2 separate regions of the Homo sapiens genome follow, and region 2 is linked to region 1. The links are contacts of gene promoters, found by promoter capture Hi-C in blood cells and fetal thymus (Javierre and others, 2016). All regions are on one chromosome and are shown on one strand. The core of a region is centred on a gene start or on the middle of the fragment in contact, and the rest is flanking DNA. Distances in the headings are between cores, read along the strand shown.

Region 1 (7,473 bases), core at 3,546-6,045:
TAAAAAAAATCCTGTAGCTATCACAAGTGATTTTAACCTGATAATAATTTGTTTGATTACAAAACATAAAACTACACCTTACCACCACTTCCCTCCCCGCATTTTGATATTTTCATGTCACAATTAACAGCTTTTATGTGCCATATACATTAACAATTTATTGTAGTTATTATTAATTTCAAGTTTTATCTTTTAGCCTTCATACTAAAGATAGAAGTGATTTATACATCACCATTATAGTATCACAGTATTCTGAATTTTGACTGTGTAATTAATTTTATTAGTGAGTTCTACACTTTTAGATTATTTTGTATTACTCATTAGCATCCTTTTCTTTCACCTTGAAGAACTCCTTTAGCATTTCTTGTAAAATAGGTCTGATGGTGACATACTTCCTCACCTTTGTATGTCTAGGAAAGTTTTCATTTCTCTGTCATTTCTGAAGAACAGCTTTGCTGAGTATAGTATGCTTGGATGGTTTTCTTTTTTTTCATTACTTTGATAATATTATTCCACTCTCCTCTGATCTTTAATGTTCCCTTTGAGAAATATGATTTGATTGCAGCACTATTCATACTAGCAAAAACATGGAATCGACTTAGGTGCCCATCAATGGTGGATTGGATAAAGAAAATATGGTGTATATACACCATGGAATACTACACAGTCATAAAAAATAAATAAAATCATGCATTTGCAGCAACATGGATGCAGTGGGAGGCCATTATCCTAAGTAGATTAATGCAGGAAGAGAAAACTATATACCACATGTTCTCAGTTATAGAGGGGAGCTAAATGTCAGATACTCATGAACATAAAGATGGAAATAATACACACTGAAGACTACTAGAGGAGAGAAGGAGGGAGGGAAGGGGACAAGGGTTGAAAAACTAAATGTTGGGTATTATAGTCAGTATCAGAATGACAGGAAAATTCATACCCCGAGCTTCAGCATCATGCAATATACCCAGGTAACAAATTTGCACACTTGGCCCCTGAATGTAAAATAACAGTTGAAAAAGAAAAAAAAGGTCTGATGTGAAGTGTATTGGAACTGTTTTGCATTTTATTTGCTTCTTTTCTTTTGCTGCTTCAGTATCATTTATTTGTCTTTGATCTTTCACAGTTTAATTATTATATGTCTAGTCTTTTTTGAATTGAATGTGATTGGTGACTGTTGACCATCCTGCACTTTGACTACATATATATATATATAATAGACACATACATATATATATAATATATATGTATATATGTATATGTATATATATGGGTGTATATATGTGTGTGTGTGTGTGTGTGTATATATATATATATATATATATATATATATATATATATGAACTCCTCAGATTTGGAAAGTTTTCTGTTATTACTTATTTAATAAGCTTTCTTTACTTTTCCATTTATCTTTCTCTAACTTCTCTTGAATGCCAGTAAATTGTCCCTTTGCTCACTTAATGCTATTCCATACATCTCATAAGTTTCCTTCATTCTATTCTTTTTTCTTTTTTCCTTTTCTGAGTATATATTGTCAAATAACCTGTATTCAAGCTCACAGATTATTCCTTCTGCTTGATCATTTCTGGTGTTAATGCACTCTATTGCACTTTTCACACTTTTCATTTTATTCATTGCATTCTTCAGCTCCTATATTAACATTAGATATTAAATGTTATCATTTTTACCCTTTGTTACATCTCTCTTTCTGGTCACTTATTGTTTTCATCATTTCATTTAATTATTTATCTGTATTTTATTAAAGTTCTTTGAGCTTCCTTAGAACAGCCATTTTAAATTCTCTTTCAGGCAGGTCATACATCTCCATGTCTTTGGGGCCAATCAATGGTATCTTATTTTGTTCATTTGGTACCTTATTTTGTTAATTTGGTGTCATCAGTTTTCCCCGATTGTTCTTGATCCTTGTGATTGTGCATTGATGTCTGCACATTGAAGAAGTAGGTACTTATTGAATTGCAGGTAGGTACTTGAATGCAGATATTGAATTTAAGGTAGGTACTTACTCCAGTTTGGCTTTGTCTGAGAATGTCCCTCAACTCTGTCCGGAAATTCTAGGCAGATCATCTGTTCTAGGTTTGTAAGCCTGTGACTGTTTCAGTCATTGCAGCACAAGGAGATGTCATAAACCCAGGACCACCATGGCCAGTTCTGCACCAGGCTGTAACCCATGGCTGCAGAGGCTGGCACAATGATGGAATGCATTCCCAACTCCTCCTCACTGATACCTGCCTACGTATGTTGGTTATTCATAATCCAAGGCTGCTGTAGTTGGCTGCCAGTGGTACAGGTAAGAACGCAAGTCTATCTCACAGGAACTATGTGTTCCTCTCTGCTGCTGGGGCAGGTCTTGCTGCTTAGGCCACAGGTATTCAAGCAGGGTCACTATGGGTGTCCTCCCAGTGCTGAATTTTACTATTATAGACTAGTATTTTGTTCCGTGAAAAAGTCCAAGCCTTACTTCATTCCCTTCCCCCCAAAAGAAAGTAGCTCTCTCTGCACTGTGCTGCCTGTGATTGGGTTAGGGGTGATACAGGAAACAAAATTGTCTTTCGTGCCCTCTTCAATGTGTATTTTTAATTATTATACTATAATCAGGTTCTGTAATATCTCATCTGGCCTGTTTAGCTTTTGAGAAACTATTATCATATGTGGATAATTATTAAATTCGACGTTTTGGAGGGTATAATCTCTGGGGAGTCCTACTCTACCAGGTTTTTCTGCCCATTCCCCAAAAATAACTATATTTGAATCTTTTCTAAGTTGTAAAGTGATTTCCCATAGAATTGAGCAAAATACATTTAAGTCCTCCTGTTTTCTTCTTTTCCTATGAGTATAAAACTTTCAGATTTTTGTGCCAATTTAGTGCACTTTAATATTTTTGCATTTTTTATTTGTCCAACAGGACAAATCATTTGATCACTTAATCTTTTCCCCCATCATAATTCCATATCTAAGATGTATGCATCACCATACCATTTTTATGCTTTCCAAATCACTGATTTCTGATTTCAACTTTATCAATACATTCCTTTATCATTTGGAAATGTTTTTTTCCACATTTCATTGAATTCAATTCTAATATGAATATAGTAATCACATGTTTTGCTTGGATTGCATTTTCCTGGTTTGTTTTTGCAAATATTGTGCCCTTTTGTTTTATCTGCATCTTTTGGACACTAGATGAGATGAAAGTTTTGTTCTTGATCCATAAGTAAGATTAATATTTCAGACTCTATTTTGTATCAGTAAGTTTGGAACAGAACAGTTTCTGGTATTTTCTTAAGGGAAGTGTGAGGAAGATTACAGTGGTTAGCAGACACAGTAATCAATTTTAGTTCAGAACAATATCACCTTACTCTGTTGGGGTTTCTGCAATAAGGAACTACTTACTGCCTTTGAGGCAAACAGATAAATTTGGTAAGATCTCAGAGTGGCTCATAGAGAAACCATGCAGCTCACATGATTTATGTTTGATAGCATAGCACTTTTTTTCTGTGGTTGGCCTTTCTCTTTTCCCCTTCCATAGAGCATTGCCTACAGGAAGGTTAAGATTCTAAGACAGAATAATTGAAAATAAGTTTTCAAGCTATCCTTTCCCCAGCACTACCCTCCAAGGTGTTCTGAATGTACACAGGGACACTGTTGGGATGCTTTCTTCTTCTCCTGTGGTCTGCTCATAACGAAGTCTTTATGACTCAAAGTAAAGAAAGTTTCTTCAGACTTTTCAGGATGTCATCACAATTGGAAAAATCTATGCTTCTACCAAAGGTGGGAATTTTAGCTTCATGTCCACTCACAATACATTATTCAATTCATTGATGGTGGCAAATATTTCTCACAGCCTGTTTGGGGATTCAGCTGTTTACTACTGAAGTAGAAACTTCTCTTAATTAAAAAGAAAATTCTGCTGTTTAGGTAGATTTCATGAAAAGAACCCAATCTAGAAACCAGCATTTTTACTTTTTTTCCAACAGTTGTTCCTATCACCATGAAAGCATATTAAAATTCTTTCATCCTTTGAAAACACATCTGGAACTTACCTCACCCTCCAGATACAGCCTCAGCTCTCACTCCACCATGAATTCAGACTTCCTGAGAAGGTTGCAGCTGGTCTCCATCCTTCAACTGACAACCCAATGCAATTGTATTCATCTCTCATTAAAGTTACTAGCAACAACTAAGAAAAACTTTGGATACATGTCAGTCTTTATTGTGTTGAACTTGACAGACATATTTGACATTGGAGTGCCCCATTTACTTGTTTAAAATTTCTTTCTTTGGATTCCATAACGTTTCATTATCTTCTATATCATTGGACTTCTATGATTGCTCATTCTTAGGTAAAATAGAACGTGTCTCAAGATCATTTTTAAAACAAAAGGAAGTATGGAGTTCTATCTAAAATAGAGTATTTAAATTATTGCATCATGAAGGGAAACTCACATTTAGAATATAAAGGCATTCTCAGAAACCAATTGCTTTTGTAGCCTGAAGCCAGTCTCTTTCCTACTTTTGTCTATAATTCTGTAAAATTAAAGTGATCTGGCATGATGATCTAAAAGGACTGATAAAAATTTGCTGGGGCTGCCAGAAGAAAGAAAATGCCTTTGACATTATGTTGCTGGGGACATTGACTTTGTCCCACACTCAGCAGGGGTGAGGAAGTTGGCATTTACTGATAAGCTAAGAAAAGTCAGTGCCTTTTGTAATTTAAGCTCCACCCATGGCACACTCACTCAAGGAAGATATAAATGACAAGGTCGGCTCAGCTCTCAGACAAGGTTTTCCAAGCAAGATGAAGCCCAACATCATCTTTGTACTTTCCCTGCTCCTCATCTTGGAGAAGCAAGCAGCTGTGATGGGACAAAAAGGTGAGTGGAGAGGGTAAGCCTTGGGGAAAGCTGCTCAGACAGCTAATAATCTAAGATTATTTGGGGTGCAAACAGTAACCTGTTTAGGCACAGATTCTTCTCTTTGAAGAGAATTGATTTTCTCCACCCAAAGCTTCAGCTTTTCTAGAAATATCAATAATTTGTTGGGGGAAAAGTGGGGGGTAAGAGTTGTAAGGGAGCTTTGGAGATAATGAATGCATACCTTCTTATTATCAATTACCAGGTGGATCAAAAGGCCGATTACCAAGTGAATTTTCCCAATTTCCACACGGACAAAAGGGCCAGCACTATTCTGGACAAAAAGGCAAGCAACAAACTGAATCCAAAGGCAGTTTTTCTATTCAATACACATATCATGTAGATGCCAATGATCATGACCAGTCCCGAAAAAGTCAGCAATATGATTTGAATGCCCTACATAAGACGACAAAATCACAACGACATCTAGGTGGAAGTCAACAACTGCTCCATAATAAACAAGAAGGCAGAGACCATGATAAATCAAAAGGTCATTTTCACAGGGTAGTTATACACCATAAAGGAGGCAAAGCTCATCGTGGGACACAAAATCCTTCTCAAGATCAGGGGAATAGCCCATCTGGAAAGGGAATATCCAGTCAATATTCAAACACAGAAGAAAGGCTGTGGGTTCATGGACTAAGTAAAGAACAAACTTCCGTCTCTGGTGCACAAAAAGGTAGAAAACAAGGCGGATCCCAAAGCAGTTATGTTCTCCAAACTGAAGAGCTAGTAGCTAACAAACAACAACGTGAGACTAAAAATTCTCATCAAAATAAAGGGCATTACCAAAATGTGGTTGAAGTGAGAGAGGAACATTCAAGTAAAGTACAAACCTCACTCTGTCCTGCGCACCAAGACAAACTCCAACATGGATCCAAAGACATTTTTTCTACCCAAGATGAGCTCCTAGTATATAACAAGAATCAACACCAGACAAAAAATCTCAATCAAGATCAACAGCATGGCCGAAAGGCAAATAAAATATCATACCAATCTTCAAGTACAGAAGAAAGACGACTCCACTATGGAGAAAATGGTGTGCAGAAAGATGTATCCCAAAGCAGTATTTATAGCCAAACTGAAGAGAAAGCACAGGGCAAGTCTCAAAAACAGATAACAATTCCCAGTCAAGAGCAAGAGCATAGCCAAAAGGCAAATAAAATATCATACCAATCTTCAAGTACGGAAGAAAGACGACTCCACTATGGAGAAAATGGTGTGCAGAAAGATGTATCCCAACGCAGTATTTATAGCCAAACTGAAAAGCTAGTAGCAGGCAAGTCTCAAATCCAGGCACCAAATCCTAAGCAAGAGCCATGGCATGGTGAAAATGCAAAAGGAGAGTCTGGCCAATCTACAAATAGAGAACAAGACCTACTCAGTCATGAACAAAAAGGCAGACACCAACATGGATCTCATGGGGGATTGGATATTGTAATTATAGAGCAGGAAGATGACAGTGATCGTCATTTGGCACAACATCTTAACAACGACCGAAACCCATTATTTACATAAACCTACCATTCGGTAACCATGTGAAAGGATGGACCAATATCAAGGTAATTTTTTTTTAGCAAATAGGGGAGATATCTCTCTCATTGTTTAGAATTGTTGGGGACTCTCCAGGACTTTTGTGGGATTGATAACCATTGTTCGCACCAATAGAAGTGCTGTATAACAAGTGGTAGGAAGATGAGCCTCCCCATTCCCTGGTGAGGAGAGGGTCTGGTAGTGGCACAGAAGGATGTTTGGCCTATCATGAGGTCCTAGAATTCCTATCCTTAATTGAATATTCTTCAATAATATTTTTTTGTATATGCCTACCTGCTAAAGGTTTTTTTGAACAGGTACTGACTACATATGCATATTTATAAGTTTATGGTATACTCTTGTCAGTTCTTATACTTTAGATTAGTAAACCTCAGTTTCTTTCCTATATAGTATAAAGGATTACAGCCATTAATGTTTTCTTTCTGCACACCAGTGAATGTTCTTGCATCCCTGTTAGGGTTCATCTATGCTCCTTCAGAGACCACAAGCCCAAAGACTATCAGTCCTCCCTCTCAGAATACAGGAAAGAGATATGTAGAAAGATCCTTGTTCATGTTGTGAAAGAGAAGATGGAAAGGGAGACACAAGAGATGGTGAGGGATCTCATGGGCCAATTGGGTGTTTACAACATCAGGAGAAGAAAACTGAAGCCCTGAGAGGGGTAATGGTGCTTCCCTGCCTCTTTGCAGTAAGTAACACTGCACTTGAAGAGAGGGCAAGCAGTAGAAACAGTGGCCCCAGCTGGCAACTAGTGGCCTGGTATCCTAGTAGTAGAGGGCTGGTACAGTTGGAGCTGAAGGGGACAGGGGGCCCAGCTACCATCCCCACCCTTCACTTTTTACTATACTCACATCACTGATTCTCTTCTTTCTCTCTAGGTGTCAGTTGACCTCAGTGAATTCTGTGATGTTTCTGAGATGCAGACTCCCGTGTAGTTTCAGATTCTTGGTCCATGGATGACACCACCTGCCCATGCTTCCTTGAATTA
Region 2 (7,473 bases), core at 1,814-4,313, 500 kb after region 1:
AAAAAAGAAGAAGGAGGAGAAGGAGGGGGAGGGGGAAGAAGAAGAAGAAAGAAATGCTCAACATCATTAGTTATTAGGGAAATACAAATAAAAACCATGAGATACCACTTCACATTTTTTGACTGGCTATAATTTCTAAAAAGGAAAATAATAAGTGCTGACAAGCATGTGGAGAAATTGGAACCCTCGTGCATAGCTGATAGAAGTATTAAATTGTTCAGCCGCTGTGGGAAGAGTTTGGAGTTTCCTCAAAAAAGTAAACATACAAAGTTAAACATATGACCCAGCAGTTCTACTCCCAAATATTTACCCAAATGAGTTAAAAATATATACTCAAAAAAATATTCATCTACAAATGTTCATAGCTGCATTATTTGCAATTGCCAAAGCAAGGAAACAGCTGAAATGTCCATCAACAGATGAATGGATAAACAATTGTGATATATATATATACAATGGAGTATTATTCACCCATAAAATGGAATGAAGTACTGGTGCATGCTACATAGTAAATGAACCTCAAAAACTACAGAAATAACATTTCCTACCCAATTGTTTTGGAAAAAATTCAAAAGCATGACAACACGTTCTGTTAGTGAGACTGTAGGAAACGTGCACAGTCACATTGTTGGTGGCATTACAAAAAGGTATAATCTTTATGAAGTAGAAATCGGCAATATCTAGCCAAACTATATGTGCATTTATCCTCTTTTTTCTCTTTTGAGACAAAGTCTAGCTCTGTCACCCAGGCTGGAGTGCAGTGGCTTGATCTTGGCTCACTGCAACCTCTGCCTCCCGGGTTCAAGCGATTCTTCTGCCTCAGCCTCCTGAGTAGCTGGGACTACAGGCATGTGCCACCACGCCCATCTAATTTTTGTATTTTTAGTAGAGATGGGGTTTCACCATGTTGACCAGGCTGGTCTCGAACTCCTGACATCATGATCTGCCCTCCTCAGCCTCCCAAAGTGCTGGGATTACAGGCGTGAGCCACCGCACCCAGCCGTGCATTTATCCTTTTAACCAATGATCACACTTTTAGAAATTTACTGATATTATACCTCCAACAATACAGAAAATTATGCATAATTGTTCATTGCAGCATTATTTATAATAGCAAAATCTTGGAAACTACCTAAATGCCCAAATATAGGAGACTGGCTATATGACTAAGGTGTATGTCAAATGCAGCTGTAATAGAGGAAAAATTGTTATGAACTACTGGAGAGCAGTTTTCAGGATATATTGTTAAATGAAAACAACAAGGTGCAAATGGGTATATTCGTGCAAGAAAAACAGAGTTGAGAGTTCAAGTAACTAATTATCTTAAATCAAGAATTTATAGAGAATTGATAAAGAAGGGCTGCTACTCAGCACATCCTATGAAGTCAGCATAAACTTGCTATGAAACCAAGCAAGGACAATATGAGAAAGACAAGTTACAGGCCCAGTTCATTATGAACATAGATGTAAAATACCTTAAAAATAGCAAACTAAACCAAACAATATAAAAATGATAATATTCAATGATCACCTTATATTACCATAGAAATGGCTTAATGTTTGAAAATCTGAATGTTCACTGCATTAACAGATTAAAGGATATAAAAATGTTATCATCTCAATATACATAGAAAAAAGCAATACATATAATCTGACATAAACTAATTTAAAATTTCTTGTTAGGAATGAAAGAAAAATTTCTAAACCTGATAGAGGGTACTTATGAGAAACCTAAAGTGGAGACAATTCTAAAAGGGGAAACAAGAAGTTTTCATTTTAAATCAGGTATCAGACAAAAATACACACTATCACCACTTACATATGATGTACTCAAGGGCCTAGCGAGCACAGTGAGGCATTAAAAATGGCATAAAGTTTGAAGAAGAAAACTATAACTGCTTATTTGCCTATGATAAACACTGAAGAGAACACACAAAGAAACCATAATAAACAATGGGAGAATTTAGCAAGCTAACTAGTTACAAATTTGTGGAAAGAAGAAAAGATCCAAGCTTTAAAGAGAGGAAAGCAAGTTTGAAATAGTATTTGTAGAAAGTGGGAACACTGGCTTACTGAAGAAACTTAGTAAGATTGCCAGACCCTTTTTGGTTTGGTGATGGTGCATCTATTGTGCTGTTTAGTAGCCCAGTTGAGTTATTTTCCCCCAGCAACAATTATCTGCCTAGGTTCAAGCTTCAATGAAATTGATGGTTGGATTCATTCAGGGTTGCAGTTTTTGTAGGTAGATTCAAGCAAGGAGATTTAAATGACAGGTTCTGAGTCCTACATTGATAGAAAGAAAAGTAAACGCCTATAGGGGAGGACTACGAAATAGGGAAGTGAAGAGTCAATGTTTATTGGTTTCAGTGAGGTCAAATAATTGTCATGGTGGAGATTTTTGAGCAAACTGGAAAGTTAACTTCTCTACATTAGCAGTAAACAAAAGGAATTAGTTGAAAAGTTATGATAACATTTACAATTTCCTTTTAAAAACTTCAAGCCTCAGACCAGGCGCGGTGGCTCACACCTGTAATCCTAGCACTTTGAGAGGCTGAGGAGGGCAGATCACCTGAGGTCAGGAGTTCAAGACTAGCCTGGATAACACAGTGAAACCCCATCTCTACTAAAAATACAAAAATTAGCTGGACATGGTGGTACACGCCTGTAATCCCAGCAACTCAGGAGTCTGAGACACAAGAATTGCTTGAACCTGGGAGGAAGAGGCTGCAGTGAGCAGAGATCGCACCACTGCACTCCAGCCTGGGTGACAGAGCCAGACTCCATCATCTCAAAAAAAAAAAAAAAAAATTCAATCCTCTGTGAATAAATATAACATGTACAATTTCCACAGGGGAAAATTATAAAAAAATGTTAAGGGACATGAATAAGATCTAGATACAGATGAAAGAGATAGCAAGGTCAAGATTAGGGGAATAAAGGAGGATATGAAAACACTACGTGACCCTGGAGTGGGTGTGATTGGGAGGTGCTTGGATTCCTGCCCTGCCGGTTTTGATTGGAGTACACGGTGAAAGGCTAGTCACACTGGGCCTCCACTTTGCCCTCTTTCCTTCTCTTCTCCTCACAGCAGTGCCTGGTCAAACCCAGCAACCCTTGGCCAGAACTTACTCACCCATCCCACTGACACCATGAAGCCTGTGCTGCCTCTCCAGTTCCTGGTGGTGTTCTGCCTAGCACTGCAGCTGGTGCCTGGGAGTCCCAAGCAGCGTGTTCTGAGTAGGTGCTGGATCTGGGCCCAAGGAGGGAAGTAACATGTGTGGATAGGAGAGGATCTGAGGGCTGACAGTCTGTCACACCTCTTGGAAAAATACCGTGTCATGTTCAAGGGCCCAAGCTTTATTGTTGGCAAGATCTAGGTTTGAATCCCTGCTCTGTTGCTGAGTGACCTTGGGCATAGTATCTGGGCCTCAGGTTTTTATCCTTATAATGAATACAGGAGGAGAACAGATAATGCATGCAGACATAGCTCACTCTTACTAAACCATGGTAAATGCTCAGTAATATTAAATGCTGTAAATGTGATCAGCCTCATCATCCAGCTTAGTCTTGCTGCCCGTGGCTCCTTCATGGATGCTTGGACTCACTTTTCAAGCAATAAAACAGAGAGACAACGAAGTTGGTAGAACTCAAGCTAGAATCTACATAACCTTGGCCTTGGAGGATGTTTTGGGAAGGAGGGAAAGGAAGTCTTGCCTTTTATTCCACATTTTCAAACTCCAGAGGTACTGTACAATTACCGGTAATTAGCATCAATGGGACAGTGTAGAGTCCATCTCAGCAGCCACCACTGCCCAGCTCAACTCAAAAGAGCTCTGGCTCTAGTAATGTTGACCTTAACCAATACCAAGTGGGAAAAGAACTGTTATTCATCATACATCCACTCTTCTATGGGGAAAACATCTTCAGAATACTGGCGGCTCAGAAGAGGGATAAGTGTGGTAGCTCATGTGTCTGGGGAGGCTAGGTCCTGCTTAAGAAGTTTCAGAAAAGGCATGCAGGTTTGTAGGACTAAGAGGGACTAAGCAAGCTACAAGAAAATAGGAGTGCCCAGGGTAGAGTTAATTGGAGAATCAGAATTTGAGGAAAGGCACAAAGAGGCTTTCTAAAAGACTGGTAAATGCTGTGAGTGAAGTTGGGACCAGATACCCAGAAGAGGGGTCAAGACTTGAAAAGGGTGACCTCTCTGAGATCTCTGGATCATGGTGTCTATCTCTAAACTGCTCTGTTGAGCCCCAAGCTCTTCAAAGTGTGGATTAGTTCCAATTTCTTGCAGTGCCCCAGTGAGCTATAGAATAGCTGAGAGGCCAGGGGTGAGTACTAGTTATTGGTCTCTGTTAAATTGTCAACAGCTTGAACCTCAGCTTCTTTTACCCCAATTCTGGTGCCATTTGCTACTACAGTTATAGTCATGACCTCTTTCTTCATTCATTCCTTTCAAATCATCATAATATCCTATAGATTTCCTTCTAATTGCAAATATTTGCAGAGGAATAGACCCACAATTCCTCTATTTGCAATAGAATGCCCCACTTTTGACTTTTGCCCCCAAAGAAAGGGAGAATCACAAGGTACAAAAATTAGGACCTGGAAGGGCTTGGGGAAAGGGATTAATGGGGCCCATCTTTAGAGTCCAGGAATAGAAAGGAGATTGTGGGTTGTGGACTTAGGGAAGACTCTCCCAGGGCAGGTAGGTCTTAGCTTTGAACTGAAATACTTGGGGGTAGGGGAGGAAATAGGAAGTCAACATAATGATGCTTATTCTTCTCTAACAGTAGAAAGTGGGGCATCCTGGTGCTCTGGCCTCCTGATCGAGAGACACCAAGGAAGAAAAAAGCTGAATCTTTGAACGCCATTCTGAAATCCCCACCCTTCTTACCATGAAAGAAGTCACTCCCAGAACTTACTTGTGAATTGGGTCCCAGCTCTCTGATCCAGTACCTTCAGTTTAATGCATGGTCTTCATCCTTTACCAAAACTTACCTTTCACTCATTCTTCCTGTACACAAATAACCCATGTTAGGTTAACCCCAGGGTAAACTATGTTGTTAATGAGAAGCTCTACAACTTGCTCAAGACCACACAATGAATCAGTGCAGAACGAACATACAAACCTCTTTCTTGTTCACCACATACACCATTGATACCCTTGATATGGACACAACCATAGTCAATGGGGGCTTGGCATCTGAACTACAAGGATGGTGAATGACCAATGGGTGCAGGGTTCTACCAAACTCTGTTCTTGATCAAAAAATATCCATGCCCTGCTTCCCTGCTCAGAACTCAGAGGAAGGCAGCAGCTGAGGACAAAACCTGATGCCACCACCCTGGAACCATGCAAGGCAGATGAGGGTGGCAGGTTTCCTGGCAGTTCCCTGGGCTTTCTGAGTTCTGAACATTACTCCAGCCTGTTGGTGAGGCCCTTCTCTTACTTGTTCTGTGTTCCAGAGTATATCTTGGAACCTCCACCCTGCATATCAGCACCTGAAAACTGTACTCACCTGTGTACAATGCAGGAAGATTGCGAGAAAGGATTTCAGTGCTGTTCCTCCTTCTGTGGGATAGTCTGTTCATCAGAAACATTTCAAAAGCGCAACAGGTAAGAGATATCTCATATCCAGGTCTGATCCTAGAGCTGCTGGTGGGAGCCCAGCAGAAGAGTCCCTTACCAGCAACTGTGCTGGATCTCTCCTTTTTTTTTTTTTTCCTTGGTGGCCATGTTGCCAACATGCCCCTTCTCTTGACCAAGGATAATTTCCATAAAAGTCCTGATTAGAAAAGCCCTCCTCCCCTCCCAATCACCACATCCCATCACCATATCCGTGAATTTCTGACTCTGCCTCTCTGAACACACCCACAAATGCCTTTATCCACAGACCTTCCCCCGACCCAGAATCCACCCTTATCCCAGGGACACTGTACCTGCAGGTGTAACCAAAATCCCAAAGCAAAATTTGTCCTACACTTTTGCTTGCCCTCCTTTCACAAGACACCATCCTTTGGCCACCAGTGTTCTTGGGCTCTGGAGATCCAGCCCAAAGGAAGTTTTGATTAATTGTCCAGACATTAACACTAGCCGCAAGCCTGCTAAATGGAGTGTGCTCCCAGGGCAGAGAAAGGACATAGGGTGCTGATGAGACATATGGTTTCTAATCCCATCTTGCAACTATGTCTTTCTATGACCTTGAGTAAGACAATTCCCTCTTTTTTACTTTCTTTTTCTCATGAGTAAAATAAGTACTCTTGTTTTTTCCTGCTTTGCAAGGCCCATATGAAATTTCAAAAGACTCACAGTGGAAGACTCAACCAATGAGCCCTTTGAGGGAAGCCTGGCAGTCTTGTTCCCTGCTGTATTCCCTACCATGAGCAGAATACCCAGCATGAGATAATGTGCAGAGTGATTAAGCATGGGCTCAAAGCCAAACACCTGGGCTCAAATCCTGGCTTCTTAGCTAAGTGACCTTAAGTGATCTTAGACAAGCTAATTAACCTCTCTCTGGGCATCAACTTCCTCATCCTTAAGACTGGAACAATAATAGTGAGGTTAAAATAGACAATCCATGTAAGCTTTAAAACATTACTTGCCAACATAATTGCTGTGAATTTTGGGGATTAGGCAACCACTTCTCTTTGAAGAGACTAGCCCTTGCAATTAAATTCCACATCTTTCAATGCTCTACATTGGAATGCAGAAGCATAAATATAACTCTTTGGTGTCATTGAGTTTTTTGAGGTTCTGCCTTCCCTATGGCAAGAGAAATGAGCTTCATGGTCTAATATTAATGGTGGAAGTAATTGAAAGAAAAATATATATCTCTAAAAGTAAAACTTCACTAGTTAATATTTGAAAATATTTTTCTTCTACAGAATCAAACACAAGGGCTCAGAAGTCATCATGCCTGCCAACTGAGGCATATTTCCTAGATCATTTTGTAAGTACAGGGATTTGGTCTCGCCTTCCTCATGTGAGATTCCCAGGGATGCTCACTTTCTTCCTGTAGCCTCACCAGGGGCACTACATTCCCACAAGCTCAGAATGGCCTCTCATTACCTGATTGCCTCCTCCTCCATCATTCCCCTCCAAGGGCTATCTTTGCACTCCCTGGGGGAGGCACGGTGCAGTCCAGCATGAATTCTGCAACACAGAGCAATGTAAGGAACCAAGTCATGGCCCAGGGGGAACCCAGGGCACTCAGATCTGAGGCTTTGTCAAGGAACAAGCTCTTCTAGCCTCCGGGTTGACAGCACCCTGGGCAGGGACTCAAGCTGAGCCCTTCACGCTCTGAGACTTTGGTCTGCTCACTGTACCTCTCTGAGACAGTCACCTCCCTCATGTGAAATATGAAGAAAACATCCATGCCTTGGGGTATTGGGAGGACAACACAAGGCCATGTAGATGGAAGAACTTGGTCTCTGCAAAGGTAGAAACTGCCAGCAACTCACTTACAAGGT

The links. The method cuts DNA at HindIII sites, captures the fragments that hold promoters and counts their contacts. A CHiCAGO score of 5 or more calls a contact.
Region 2: a contact is called between the fragment with the promoter of WFDC13 here and the fragment with the promoter of SEMG1 in region 1, in 11 of 17 cell types (M1 macrophages, M2 macrophages, M0 macrophages and 8 more). The highest score is 13.6, in M1 macrophages.

The regions. Positions count from the first base shown.
Region 1 is chr20:45,202,238-45,209,710 of GRCh38, forward strand. SEMG1 (semenogelin 1) reads left to right here and starts at 4,796. Exons shown (of 3, transcript NM_003007.5): 1 at 4,796-4,892; 2 at 5,137-6,493; 3 at 7,364-7,473. The coding sequence starts at 4,817. The coding sequence ends at 6,449. The HindIII fragment of the contact is 3,637 bases long and covers 1,387-5,023 here.
Region 2 is chr20:45,698,975-45,706,447 of GRCh38, forward strand. It overlaps WFDC13 (WAP four-disulfide core domain 13), which reads left to right and starts at 3,064. Exons shown (of 4, transcript NM_172005.2): 1 at 3,064-3,237; 2 at 5,470-5,620; 3 at 6,889-6,953. The coding sequence starts at 3,150. The coding sequence ends at 6,931. WFDC10B (WAP four-disulfide core domain 10B) reads right to left here and starts at 6,045. Exons shown (of 4, transcript NM_172006.2): 1 at 5,944-6,045; 2 at 5,523-5,587. It overlaps MIR3617 (microRNA 3617), which reads right to left and starts at 6,206; the gene lies at 6,128-6,206. The HindIII fragment of the contact is 1,162 bases long and covers 2,192-3,353 here.